Linked DNA regions of Homo sapiens: region 1 is linked to region 2. Evidence: promoter capture Hi-C in human tissues and cell types (Jung and others, 2019). All regions are on one chromosome and are shown on one strand. The core of a region is centred on a gene start or on the middle of the fragment in contact, and the rest is flanking DNA. Distances in the headings are between cores, read along the strand shown.

Evidence for each region. The method cuts DNA at HindIII sites, captures the fragments that hold promoters and counts their contacts. A contact is called where the count stands out against the background at its distance.
Region 1: a fragment that was not itself captured here is called in contact with the fragment with the promoter of G6PC2 in region 2 in 1 of the 25 tissues and cell types used here (stomach).

The regions. Positions count from the first base shown.
Region 1 is chr2:168,765,851-168,770,013 of GRCh38, forward strand. CERS6 (ceramide synthase 6) reads left to right here. Exons shown (of 10, transcript NM_203463.3): 10 at 3,660-4,163. The coding sequence ends at 3,812. Among named protein-coding and RNA genes, the nearest start is that of CERS6-AS1, 18 kb to the right of the region's middle. The HindIII fragment of the contact is 4,087 bases long and covers 1-4,072 here.
Region 2 is chr2:168,898,666-168,903,452 of GRCh38, forward strand. G6PC2 (glucose-6-phosphatase catalytic subunit 2) reads left to right here and starts at 2,626. Exons shown (of 5, transcript NM_021176.3): 1 at 2,626-2,884; 2 at 3,780-3,889. The coding sequence starts at 2,667. The HindIII fragment of the contact is 19,052 bases long and covers 1-4,787 here.

The DNA.
Region 1 (4,163 bases), core at 779-3,278, 130 kb before region 2:
TATTTCTTCAGAATTGAGCAAAAATTGAGTCATTTCCTTTTCTAGTTCATTTTTTAAGTCTTCAGTGTTCCTTTGCTGGCGATGGCACCCAATGATATGCATTTGTAATTTTAGACTTAATAATATATTATTTGTTGTGTTCGCTCTCCCTCTTCCTGTCAACCTTGGACCTCCTCTGATTATATTTATACTGAACAGAAATTTAATCACTTCTTTCCTTTTATGAGAAGGGTCGCTTGGTGCTGTATGCCGGTTTAAACAAACCTTTCTTTCAAACTGAAAAACAAATCTGTTCATGACTTCCAACAAGATTTAGTTAAATCTTTTTGGTTAAAAGTGGACTTGAGGTTGATTCGAATAAAGCTTCCTAAGCCTCAGCCCCAACCCTGTGTGTAGAGCAGAGACTTTTCCAGATCATTCTCTGTGACATTTTCTTACTTGTTTGTTCTCTTCCTTCTGCTACCCTGGAAGGCTGGGAAGTGGAACCCTTTACATGTAAGTTTCTCCTCCTCTCTCTCTATCCCTGTCCTGAGTGCCTCTTGCCTGTTGGAGGGGCACTCAGATGCTTTTGTTTCCACGCATATTGTTCTGTCTAACCTATTGGCACTGTCTAGAGGCTTCATGTGAGCTGTAGCTCTGTGAACTGCAAGAGACACTAGAGACAGCTCTGTTAGGGCCCTTTGGTGTGAGCTTGTATTCTGCTAAATGTTGCATGATCCAACAGAGAAGAAGAATTTCTTTCACTACCCCCTCTCTGACAGGATGGTGTGAAAGCTTGCCAGGTACTTGCCAGGTTTAATGTGTTGGCTAAAAGACAGAAATAGACCAAAGTAAAGTAGGAGAAACAGAACTAGTTGGAGGGGGAGAGGATCAACACATTGCAGAATGGAGGCCTGAGCATCAGCTGTGGGCCTGACCTGCCTGGGGCCATATGGCAGCACCTGACCACTCTGACTCATCAAGGTCAACAGGGCTGGCCTGTTCTGCAGGGGAAGTCGGGGCATCTAGTCGTGTACTATGAAGCCACTTCTCAGCACCAGCTCTAGTAGAAATCCTAATTATTTTGATCAATTAATTGTTCAGAAGCTAAAGTTCATTTTTCTCTGTGACCTCTCACTCTTTGTAATGAACATGTATTTCTATTTTAAAATCTCCTTGTCCTCATTTGGATACAAATTTAATCAACATGCACAAAACTGTCAATATGATAACAATAACTAAATATGCAAGAATGCTGCTTAGATTACTTGTGTCCTTAATTGCATTGCTATTTCTACCAGACTTGTTGCCTGCTCTTCAACTTATTCCTTCTACTTTATGAAGAGAGATGATGATTAATTTTATTCTAGATCTCAGGCTTCAGAATATCTTAGCTGCCCTTGCGGCTCTCACCTGGGATAGTAAGATTCATCTTGACCATGAGTTATTTTCCTCTGGGCTATTTTGAGATATTCTAAATTGTCCTTTCTTTGAAGGTAACATAAGTATAGATTTTTCTAAGTGCAATTTAAAAAATCTGACTGAGCATGCAAATGTAAATTAATCACTTTGTAAAACTGGAGTTTTCTATTTATGACTAATGGACTTAACAACATAGTGGAACTTTACTATAATGCTGGCTTTGTGACTCACAATGTTTAAGTTCAATTATCTTTAGCCATTTTGGAGTCTTAGTATTTAAATCTTTTTGGAGATGGCCTGTGTGAGTTCAGTCCCATCTCAACGGGTATTGGAGTGAGGTTCACTTTTATGATATTTACTTCATCACCACTGGTTGGCATAAAGCAGTAGTTCTCAGCTTTCAAGTTCTCCTGACCCCACCCACCTGAGAGAGAGGACGTTCTCCCACAGGAACTGTAGTTTCTCAAGTTGGGAGAGGTGGAGGGAGTCCAGGATTCTCATGTTAGAGTGTAGTGGTAACATAGACAGGATGTGATGTGGGAAAGCGCCAGTTAATTCTGCCATACCTCCCAGGAGACTTTGCCACCTCCCCAGCCCACCCCCTAGAGAATCACAGGAGGACCAGATTGGGAAAATTCCTATGAAGGGAGGCCACCAGGTCTCTTTTGTCACACCACTGAAAAATATAAGTAAGCAGTGATGAGTTACTCAAGAATCTTAAGGCCTTCTGGGTAAAAATGCTTACCATAATTTAGACTTACAGAATAGGAGGTTCAAACTATTTTTATCTTAAAAGCAGTATTTTCTTAATTTCCCCCAAAAACTACTTCCTTGCTAAATAGTAGGATTTTTCTCATCGTTTATGGTAATGTATAGATTTACATCTTCTCACCTTATTTTGACCTCCATGTGACTTAGTGAGATTGAATGGAGGATTGAAGAGACTTGGCAGGATGGGAGCCAGTTTTTTTTGTTTTGTTTTGTTTTGTTTTTTTTTTTAAGACAGTTTCACTCATTGCTCTGGCTGGAGTGCAATGGCGCGATCTTGGCTCACCGCAACCTCCACTTCCTGGGCTCAAGCAATTCTCCTGCCTCAGCCTCCAGAGTAGCTGAGATTACAGACATGCGCCACCACACCCGGCTAATTTTTTTTTTTTTTTAAGTTGAGACTGGGCTTCTCCATGTTGGTCAGTCTGGCCTTGAACTCCTGACCTCAGGTGATCCACCCACCTCAGGCTCCCAAAGTGCTGGGATTATAGGCATGAGCCACCTCGCCTGGCTGGGAGCCAGTTCTTGATGATCTAGTCAGTGGATTTTCCTCAGGAAATATTTCAAGCTTCACCCCGCCCAGCAGGTTCTTAAGATGCCTCCTGGCCAGGCACGGTGTCTCACACCTGTAATCCCAACACTTCGGGAGGTCAAGGCAGGTGGATCACCTGAGGTCAGGAGTTCCAGACCAGCCTGGCCAACATAGTGAAACCCTGTCTCTACTAAAAATACAAAAATTAGCTGGGCATGGTGGCTCATGCCTGTAATCCTAGCTACTCGGGAGGCTAAGGCAGGAGAATTGCCTGAACCCAGGAGGCGGAGGTTGCAGTGAGTTGGATCGCACCAGTGCACTCCAGCCTGGGCAACAGAGCAAGACTCTGACTCAAAAAAAAAAAAAAAAAAGAAAAGAAAAAAAAAATGCTTCCTGCTGTCATTTGTTGTGTGACATACAGAACAAAATTCCTAATTAATTATAGCATACAAAAAATAGAAATGTAATCATAAAACAATGCATGAAAAAGCCAAATAGGAATTTTTTTTTTTCAGTGTTCTGAGTTAGTGACTATCTCCATTGCTATGGTTAATTGAGAGCTGATTTTAAATTATTCTCAAGGAGAATGTGATCATCAATGAGTAAATTGATCCATTTGTACCAAATTCCTATGACGCCATTCCAGTGACACAGTATGCTACTTTTTGATTACAAGTGGGATTCATGGTCTAGTATGTTCTCAATATGGAAAGATACCTTAAAGAAGTCAAGAAGTCTAGCCCTCCATGATACTTACATTCCTTCATAAATGACTTTGTCGCCTACATTTTATCTCTCCAATGAAGGGGAACTTATTGCTCTGGCAATGTTCTCATCCTCTTCAGTTTTTTAACATTGGGATCTGTTTCCCCTTGTGTATGACTGCATGTGCTTCTAGCATGCCATACCTTGATGATTTCTTAGGTGCTGGTTATACTCACCTGCTTCTACTCCACAGGTGTCCAAGGATGATCGAAGTGATATTGAGTCTAGCTCAGATGAGGAGGACTCAGAACCTCCGGGAAAGAATCCCCACACTGCGACAACCACCAATGGGACCAGTGGTACCAACGGGTATCTCCTGACTGGCTCCTGCTCCATGGATGATTAATTACTCAAAACTACAAGTCCCAAGCAAAGTGAACTATTTGTTCCTGGAAGTATTTAATAAGTTGCAAATGCAGTTCCTTTCATAATATCTCAGCACCAGAAACAAAAATTAAGATTATCAAAGCATTTTGAATAGTGCACTGCCATGTGTCCTGTCTGTGAATGAAGAAGAATTACCATTCTCTCTTTGTAGGCATGCTGTATGTAATTGACACAAGGGAACAGTATTTGCATTTGTACTGTCTTAGAATATTATTTATTTTTTTGTATTTGTAAATCTGTGGACAAAAGAGGGTTTCCTCACTCCTTTTACTCACTGGGCTCATGACAGTGAAGGAGATGCTCCATCTGC
Region 2 (4,787 bases), core at 1,376-3,875:
GTGCTGGGATTACAGGCGTGAGCCACTGCGCCCGGCCCAACCTACCATCTTAGGCGCCCGTGCGAACTTTTCCAGCTTCATGGGTAATTGGCTTCTACACGGGCCTGTTATGGGAACTGTGCTTGTGGCTGTTGCACAAAGTGGACAGGACCCCTTGTTTTATGGAGCTTATACTGTAGTACAGGAGAGAGATGCTAAATATATACACTTGTCATAAATATATAATTATAAATTGTGTTTAACTCCCGGTTATGGGCTGAACTGTATTCCCTCAAATTCATGTTGAAGTCCTAAGCCCCAGTACCTCCCAAAATGACTGTGTTTGGTGATAGGGTCTTTAAAGGGGTGATTAAGTTAAAATGAGGTCATTAGTATCTTCCTTAATCCAATAAGACTGGTATCCTTATAAAAAGAGGAGATTAGAACACACCCATATAGCGGGGAAGACCATGTGAAGACATAGAGAGTAGACAGTCATCTGCAAGCCAAGGACAGAGGCTCAGAAGAAATCAACGCCACCGACGCGTTGATTCAGACTCCTAGTTTCCTATATTTCTGTTGTGTAAGCCACCCAGTCTGGTATTTTGTTATAGCAGCCCTAGCAGACTCAAACAACCCCCTAGGAGAAAAGAGTGTGTGAGAGAAAGTATTGTCAGAGGAGTGGTGAGGATGCTGGTCAGAGAAGGCATCACCGATGGATGCATAGAAGCTAAGATATGAAAAGACTAAAAATGATGAACTACGAGGAATAAGCAGATTAGCAGATGCTGTTAAAGGGTGAAAGAAATCAAGATGCTTTTGCTTCACTTAATTATCCCACAGTCTACAGAACCAGGTAGTTCTCGAGAGAAAATCTTTCTAAATTAACTACCATAGATGAAAGGCTAATCACAGACTCTGAGGTGCTGAAGAGCAGGAAGTTTAATTTTTAAGTGGAAGACAAAATGTATTTGATATCATTCACATCCTGATTTAAGGATAAGACATTTCTGAAGAAAATGAGTATTATGAATTACGTAGATCAAACACTTTTTAGAAAAAGAATAAAGGGAAGTTATGCTCTTCCTCATGGCTCATTAAAGAGATTATGGAAATTACAGAACCTGAATATGCAAAACAAAGAAAAGCCAGAAGCATAGACTCTAATTAGTCAAGGATAATTCCTTATATGAATTGCCTTAGTGCAATGATTCTAAGCCCCTTATACCACATTGGAACCACTTGAGAAGTATTTTAATAATACCAATGCCCAAATTCCATTACCAGAAATATAACTGATCTCAGGTGGAACACAGTTATGGCAATTTAAAAAGCACCCCAAAAGATGTTAATGGTCAGTCAATGCATTTCTTCCAGGTAAGGTACCAATAGACACTGAAGCCCAGTAACAATGGTGCTGTTAAATGATGGGACACAAAACTCGAAGAGAAGTTCAAAGTGATAGTTATAGCCTGTGAAGGACTCTAGTGAAGTCTTTTGTCTTTACTTAGGCCATGGTAAGCAAAGACAAAAATCTGAATGACAAAATAACAAGTAAGGTTACCTAGATCCATCCCTGGCCACCTTGTGAGGCTTTGTTGCTTTCCCACTAATCCTAGACACAATCCAGCTCTCTAAACCCAACATCTCTCTGACTTAGATCCATAGCCTCTTTGTGCTACCCTTCTGTTCATTCTCAGTCTACCCTGGTCCATAGTCCAGGGTCCAGTCGTAGTCTATAGTCCAGGACCAGAGTCCTGGTCTATAGTCTAGTCATAGTCCACAGCCGTAGATTATGGACCTATGACTTAGATCCACAGCCTCTTTGCGCTACCCTTCTGTTCATTCTTAGCATTTGTTTGGTGCTTTCCACTTCTGTTTAACACTCTGTTCTCAACAAACCATTTTCCTGATTGGTCAAAAGCCCTTTGATGTCTATTCCTATCTTTGTCACATGAATCATTCCCTATTCCTCTCAACTGTATTCTCTAGTTAATAAAAGATACAATTTGATCCTAACACATTTCTATTATCCAAATGACTTTCATTTCTGCTTTCTTGTCTTATAGTCAAAAAACAACACATTTCTTTCCCTGTTCCATATATATTCTATCATTCTCTTGGATAAAGAAAATTGAACTATTCTTATTTTAAATCAGTGATCAGAACATAATCTGTCATATCATATATTTTTCATACCCAGATATTTATTCAACCATTTTCCTCAAAGACCCAATAAAATAGAGAGCCACAGCCTATCTTAAATTAAAATGCAGGGCTTTATGGGCTATTTGACATGCAATAATTATTTGCAAAGTCTTTTCACCAAACATAGAAATTGCTAATGTCTGACCTTGGAGGAAATGAACTGTACAAAAAATTTCAAGCAAACATGATCCAACTGTTCGCACAAAAGGGAGGTTGCATAAGAAATTCATTGTGTTTCTATCCAAATTTCCCCCTCGAATTGCCACAGATCAGCATGTACTTCACTCTTTGCCACCAATTAAAATCATAAATAGATGAGCTATTCAGCAGAGGAGGGCTGGTGTGCCCTCTCCACAGATGGTCAGCATCACATGTTGCAGTAATGGCTCGACATGCCACAAAGGCACAGTATAAAAACGGTGGGAATCAGAGCACTTCAGCTCCAATTGCTCTATGTTTAGAATTGCCTCTTTTTCAAGATGGATTTCCTTCACAGGAATGGAGTGCTCATAATTCAGCATTTGCAGAAGGACTACCGAGCTTACTACACTTTTCTAAATTTTATGTCCAATGTTGGAGACCCCAGGAATATCTTTTTCATTTATTTTCCACTTTGTTTTCAATTTAATCAGACAGTTGGAACCAAGATGATATGGGTAGCAGTCATTGGGGATTGGTTAAATCTTATATTTAAATGGTAAGATTTCTGTTTTATTTCATTTTTTCCTAAGATTTATCCTTAAATTTGTGACTTCGGCATAATGATCACATTTCAGATGTATATCGTTTTACTTGGAAAATCTTTCAAAAATACCAGGTAACTTGAAACACCAGATTCATAAGTAGAACTTTTAAAAGGCACAGAAATGTATATATATGTTTTTGTTTTTTTTTTTTTTTTGAGACAGAGTTTTGCCCTTGTTGCCCAGGATGGAGTGCAATGGCGTGATCTCGGCTCACTGCAACCTCTGCCTCCCAGGTTCAAGCAATTCTCTCACCTCAGCCTCCCGAGTAGCTGGGATTACAGGCATGTGCCACCACACCCAGCTAATTTTGTATTTTTAGTAGAGACAGGGTTTCTCTATGTTGGTCAGGCTGGTCTCTAACTCCCGACCTCAGGTGATCCACCGACTTCGGCTTCCTAAAGTGCTGGGATTACAGGTGTGAGCCACCACGCCAGGCCAGAAATGTGTACTTTAATGACTTATAAGTAATTCCCAAACCCCTGTAACACATATTCTGTGATTAAGAATTACTTACATGAGCAGCGTGATAATGAACAAATTGATAATTCTAGGGACAAATTTTGATATTTCCAGTCTAAGTATCCAAAGCACCCATAAGACATTCCCTGCAAGGGAAAAAAGCCCCCATGTTCATGGGAAACCAGGGTGCCAAAATACCAAATGGCTACCACCTTTAATAATGTGTGAGAGACCAAGACCTAAGTTTTTTCAAAGTCTCTTAATCATGAACTTTCACAATTAACCCTGCGCTTGAGTCATTTTTTATAGGAAAGAATTGCTAATCTCCAATTAAATAATAGCTGTGTATTTAAATATATATGCATGTTTATAATTCTTTAAATACAGGATATTATTTGGTCATCGACCTTACTGGTGGGTCCAAGAAACTCAGATTTACCCAAATCACTCAAGTCCATGCCTTGAACAGTTCCCTACTACATGTGAAACAGGTCCAGGTAAGCTATTACAGCAGGCTCCAGTTACTGAAGATCTTCCAATAGAGAATCATTACACAGGGTTATCATCTAGGAACTGATATTATATAGGGTAGTAAAGAAAATCTCATGAGTGAGGATGCTAAAACTTCATAACAATCAAAATTACTAATGAGGAAGCAAAGCAAAAAAAATACTCAAATTCCATTTTGTTATTTATGAAAGGGTAGATTGGGAGAAAACTCCCCCAGTGATTAAATATTTGGTGTTTACTTTTCAGAAGAATATAATGACTTGATACTAAAACAAGAAACAGTTAACTAGAACAAATTCTCAAGGAACTAGACTAAGATCTTAGAAATGTTGGTTAATCTGCTGCTAAGCAACTTTCAAAGTTACTATAGGTCTTCCGAGTATCTCACGAATGAGGGAGGAGTAGACAAGTCTTCTGTAAGAAAGGTAAGGACTTCTCAATGTTACTATAGCCAGTAAAGACTATTTCTAACCCTAGAACAATCTCTTTAAAACATATTTTTTCTCTGTACACAAGTAGGCTTCTTGGGCCACTTCTTTTTTATTCTAGGTAAGATTCTGTATGAGTATAAAATCTTTATTGTGATAGTTGATTCTAAGACTGTTTTAAAAAGTTTTTTGAAACATATATTTAAAAATTACATTTTAATTTATAAGAATGTGTTATATTGTACCTCATCATTTTACATAGCATAACATTCTCGCCAGTTGACATCCTTCGAAACTAACTTTGAGTAAAGGGTAGTAGAGAATGTGTAAATTCTTAATGAGTGTTCTGAATATGTCTTTTTTGTTCCCATAGAAGTATACATACATCTGTTATATCGCTTATTACACTAAATGATATTAACTAATTCTTTATATATCCGATTGCCTAGACTGGGTG